2 separate regions of the Homo sapiens genome follow, and region 2 is linked to region 1. Evidence: promoter capture Hi-C in human tissues and cell types (Jung and others, 2019). All regions are on one chromosome and are shown on one strand. The core of a region is centred on a gene start or on the middle of the fragment in contact, and the rest is flanking DNA. Distances in the headings are between cores, read along the strand shown. Region 1 holds the start of NPTX2 (neuronal pentraxin 2). Region 2 has its middle 99 kb from the start of NPTX2.

Region 1 (2,649 bases), core at 69-2,568:
GGGGGGGACGGAGGGGGAGGGGGGGAGGGGGGGAGAGAGAGAGAGAGAAGGGAATGAGGTCCCTTCCCCTGAAGCAATCCGGAAGAGCACCTTAAAATGGTCCAACTTGCAGACACGGGAGTCTTTGAAGTTAACCAGAGGTTGCCCCTCTAATGCGCGCTCTGGGGTCGCCGGTGACCCCCTGCGCTCGCCTCCCTGCGACCTCCGCCCCCAGACTTCCGCCCCCTCTAGCTCAGCCTGACCTGATTTAAAGAAAGAAACACCACATGCCCGGGGCAGCTGACCTCCCGCGGCAGCCTCGCAGCAACCCGCACGGCCTGCGGGAGCGCATCCCGGCTCGCGGAGATTTGGAGATTTGCAAGAGGATAGAGGCTACCGCGTCCCCGGGTATTTGGCGCCCGCGGCTTGGCCGTCTGGGTTCGCTAGCCCGGACCTCGGGAAGTGCTCGGCGGATCCCGCTGGCAGTCCCGACGCGCGGGGGTGGAATTTAAACGTTTCCTTCCAGCAAGAGCAGCGGTGTGGGAAGGGATACCACGCAGGGGAGTTCCCGAGCAGGATCTAGATCCCCGCCTTTCACCCTCAAGTCCAGCTCACCCCCACGGACGATCACACCCTCCCCAGGGCCAGGCCCCCTTTCCCCATCCTCCCGAGTCTTCCGCCCCCGACTCGGGAGCGTCCCCATTCCAGGTCCCCCGCGCTCCCCGCGGGCCGCTACCTCGAGGCTCTCCAGGCGGTCCTTGAGGGTCTGCAGCGAGCGGCTGAGCTGCTCCACGACGTGGCCGGGGTCCCGCGGCAGGTCGCCCATAGTGTCCTTGCCCGTGGCCCCCGCGCCGCGCGCCTTGCCGCCCGCCAGCCCCTCGCAGCGCGCTAGCTTGCCCGTGAGCTCGCGGATGGCCTCGCGCTGCGCGCCCAGCGTCTCCTTCTGCTGCACGACGGTCTCGCGCAGCTGCAGCACCGCGGCCCTCAGCTCCTCCTCGGGACTCTGCGCGCCGCCCTGCATGGGCATCGCGGGCAGCGGGCAGCCGGCGTGCACCGCCTCTGGGGGCAGTGCCGTGCACACGAAGCGGCTACCGGGCGCCGGGCTGTCCTGGGCCCCAGCGGCCACGGCGAGCGCCACGCTGGCGGCCAGCAGCGCCAGCATCCCGCCGCCGCTGCCGCGCTCAGCTCGGCATGGGCGAGCGGGCGCCGTCGGGGCGCTCCGCGGGAGGCGCCTTCGCTGCTGGCAGTAGCCGCGCTGTCGTCTCGAGGGTCGCGTGCACCGCGGGGCAGAAGTCTCCTGCCGTCTCACAGCCGCACCCACCGCGCTGCTCGGCACTCTGGCCTGCCGGGTCCGCGCGCCCTTTCTTAAGCTGAGGGGCGGAGGGGGCCGGCGTGTGGGGCGCGCGCCACGAGCTCTGATTGGCTCGGCCGGGTGCGCGTCACGCAGTGGGCGGAGCGGGGCGGGGCGGGGGCGCTTTCCGTTGCGCGCCTGGCGGCCGGGCGGGAGCGTGGGCCGGAGCCTGAGGCGAGAGCGCGAGGTCCCGGGCTCTGCCTCAGGAAAGGAGGCCTGAGGTGGAAAACGACACTGGGGCTCTCGAGAGCCTCGGCTGGCCGTGCCCAGGCGCCCCTCGAACCCACCCGAGGACGCGGGCGTCACAGGCTGAGGAGAAAGTGGGAACCCCTCGGTGTCCCGGTGCCCCTTTCTCAGGGTGGCTTCTGGCGCGGCACGGGGCCTCGCTGCGCGTTTGCCGCCGCCCTCAGGGAGGCGTTTTCTCCAGCAGGAGCAGCCCCCCAGGCGGGACTCGAACCCCGACTGCCATCGCGAGCCACCCCCGCGGCAGGCGTGGGCCTTCTCGTCAAGGCCCGGCCACCTCACTCTCGAGGCGGGAAGGAGCCGCACGACGGCCGCCTCCGGATGCAACGGTCCCCGGGACGCGCTCCATGGCCCCGCCTCCACCCCCCGCGCCAACTCGGAAAACGCTCGGGAAGAATCCCGGGGGCCTCGGGGACCGGGACCAGGACCAGGCGCCGGACGCTGATGGGAAGGAGGGGACACCCGGAGTTAGGGACAAAGTCACGAGGCCACTCGCAGAGCCCTCGCGCGCGTGTTCATCGACTGCCCCCTGGGCGGTGACCTTATTCAGCAAGACCTGAGCTCAGGGGCGGGGTGACATCTAACTGGAGTCATCATGATGGAGCCACGTGGTCCAACAGTGCCCGGTCCTTGTAACCAGGAGGGCCCGCAGTGTCACCACTTCCTCGAAGTGAGGCCACTGCCCTCAGCTTCTTGGAGACAGCAGATATGAGCAGAAACCCCCAAAAGTCAGGAGCAAATTTGTTTCAGAATCTCTCCAAATCTGTGGCTTAAAACAAGTTCAGAGGGATTTTGGTGCACAGCTACAGACTGAGCTGGTTTACTGCACATTTATAAATGGAAATCTTTATTTCTTTTCCTCTCTATGTTTTTAAGAAATCCTGTTGCAAGGTCATTAATCACGTTATCCATTATACCACAAACAAATGGATTTGTCACTTGTGCGCAGAAGCCGAGGTTGATTCTGAAAGCAAATTGTACCAAAATAAATGAAATTATTATGATAATATAAACTAGACTGCAGTGATTAATCTCTAGAAACCAAATTCTGACCTGCTTTGCACTTCAAACAATAG
Region 2 (2,649 bases), core at 78-2,577, 99 kb before region 1:
GGCAAACCGGAAGAGACAGTCTTTGCATGTGCTAAAGGTGCCCTCCTTCGAGAAGTGAAAGGACAGGTTGGGATTTATGCCTCATAGGTTCCTCATTAGACAATAGAGTCATGCATATTCAGGAGGTTTGTGGGGGAAGCTACACATATTTATGAGAGGAGCTGAATGCATGGACATTGGGTAAGCATATATGTCACATACATCCGGTGCTCACTTTGGGGCAGGGTTTTGGCATTAAATTGAGGTGGCATTTGGCTTTTTACAGCAGTAGGTAAACTATGGGACTCAAAGAAAATTTGTGAGCAATCTCTATGAGCGCTGAAACTGGCTTAAGTTCTGCAGTTGCTTATTAGGAAAGTATGTTTGTTAAGGCTGGTCCTTTGTCCAATCAGAATTGCAGTGGTCTGAGTTGTAAATCAGAGGTAGGCTGGGCACAGTGGTTCACGTCTGTAATCTCAGCACTTTGGGAGGCTGAGGTGGGAGGACTGCTTGAACTCAGGAGTCTGTGAACAGCCTGGACAACATAGCAAGACTTTGTCTTTACAAAAAAATAAAACAAAAAAAGGCCGAGTGCAGTGGCTTATGCCTCTAATTCCAGCACTTTGGGAGGCTGAGATGGACGGATCACCTGAGGTCAGGAGTTTGAGACCAGCCTGGCCAACATGGTGAAACCCTGTCTCTACTAAACATACAAAAATTAGCCAGGTGTGGTTGTGCACACCTGTAGTCCCAGCTACTCGGGAGGCTGAGGAAGGGAATCGCTTGAACCCAGGAGGCAGAACCCAGGAGGCAGAGGTTGAAGTGAGCCGAGATCGTGCCACTGCACTCCAGCCTGGGCAACAGAATGAGACTCCATCTCAAAAAATAAAATAAATAAAAAACATAAAAAGAGTTAGAAGGGGTCTGATAGCTCCTATTGTCAGGAAGTTTAGCAAGTGTGGTTTTTCTTGCAGCTATAGGAATTTAGAAATTTGCCATGTCAGCCAGGCCCTGAACGCTTGACCTGTAGGTAATTGAGTTTTGTTAGAGTCCATCTAAGTTAATCCAGAGGCATCTATTTTGGTCTCTCTGATGACAAAAGTAAATCCTAGACATCATCTTTCATCTGTAAGCATTTCAGTGAATATCTTTAAAAGATAAGGACATGTTTTTCCAAAAAAACCCCACATAACCACTATTTTATTATCACACCTAAAAAATGAGCTCTAAGCCCTTGATCTCTTCAAATATCCTCTGTTCTAATTTCCCCACTTCCCCAATTGTCTTATAATTGTACATATTTTTATATTTTTTTACACTTTGAATCCAAATAAAGTCCACACATTGCAATTGGATCATACCTATGTCTCTTTTATTCTGGGAGATTTTCCCTCCCGCACTCTCCGTCTTTATTTTTCCCACTCCGTTTGTGATTTATTCATCAAAGAAACTAGGTTGTTGATTCTGTTGGGTTTCCCACTGCCTGGATTTTGCTGCTTGCAGCCCTGAGATGTCCTGAAATGTATTTCTCTGTCCTCTGCATTTCATCTTTTATATTTATATATATATATTTATATTTATATATTTATATATAATATATAATTTTTATATATATATATAAAACTTTAAGTTTTAGGGTACATGTGCACAACATGCAGGTTTGTAACATATATATATACATGTGCCATGTTGGTGTGCTGCACCCATCAACTCGTCATTTACATTAGGTATATCTCCTAATGCTATCCCTCCCCCTCCCCCCACCCCACAACAGTCCCCAGTGTGTGATGTTCCCCTTCCTGTGTCCACGTGTTCTCATTGTTCAATTCCCACCTATGAGTGAGAACATGCAGTGTTTGGTTTTTTCTTCTTGCGATAGTTTGCTGAAATGATGGTTTCCAGCTTCATCCATGTCCCTACAAAGGACATGAACTCATCATTTTTTATGGCTGCATAGTATTCCATGGTGTATATGTGCCACATTTTCTTAATCCAGTCTATCATTGTTGGACATCTGGGCTGGTTCCAAGTCTTTGCTATTGTGAATAGTGCCGCAATAAACATACGTGTGCATGTGTCTTTATAGCAGCATGATTTATAGTCCTTTGGGTATATACCCAGTAATGGGATGGCTGGGTCAAATGGTATTTCTAGTTCTAGATCCCTGAGGAATTGCCACACCGACTTCCACAATGGTTGAACTAGTTTACAGTCCCACCAACAGTGTAAAAGTGTTCCTATTTCTCCACATCCTCTCCAGCACCTGTTGTTTCCAGATTTTTTAATGATCGCCATTCTAACTGGTGTGAGATGGTATCTCATTGTGGTTTTGATTTGCATTTCTCTGCATTTAATCTAATCGGGAAAGTCTGAAGACCTGTCAGGTTCAGGCGGGGTTTTCGGCAAGACCACTTCATGGATGATGGTGTGTCCTCCCTTGGGGACATATTATGTCTGATGGTCCCTTTCTTAGATCATATCACTGCTGAATTTGCAATATGATGACACCCTAAATCTGTGATTTCTCCTGTGTTTATGAGCTGAAAGAATTCTGCAAAGAGAGAATGCTCCCAACATTTATTCAAAAAAGGCAGGATGAATGTTCCATCTCACAGTCTGTCCCTTTTTTTTTTTCTTTACAAACCAGTTTTCAAAATCATGAGTTGTTTC

The links. The method cuts DNA at HindIII sites, captures the fragments that hold promoters and counts their contacts. A contact is called where the count stands out against the background at its distance.
Region 2: a contact is called between a fragment that was not itself captured here and the fragment with the promoter of NPTX2 in region 1, in 2 of the 25 tissues and cell types used here (H1 embryonic stem cells and heart left ventricle).

Annotation. Positions count from the first base shown.
Region 1 is chr7:98,615,954-98,618,602 of GRCh38, reverse strand. It overlaps NPTX2 (neuronal pentraxin 2), which reads right to left and starts at 1,318. Exons shown (of 5, transcript NM_002523.3): 1 at 716-1,318. The coding sequence starts at 1,141. RefSeq lists an enhancer at 1-490. The HindIII fragment of the contact is 8,881 bases long and covers 1-2,649 here.
Region 2 is chr7:98,715,227-98,717,875 of GRCh38, reverse strand. No RefSeq gene overlaps it. Among named protein-coding and RNA genes, the nearest start is that of NPTX2, 99 kb to the right of the region's middle. The HindIII fragment of the contact is 6,496 bases long and covers 1-2,649 here.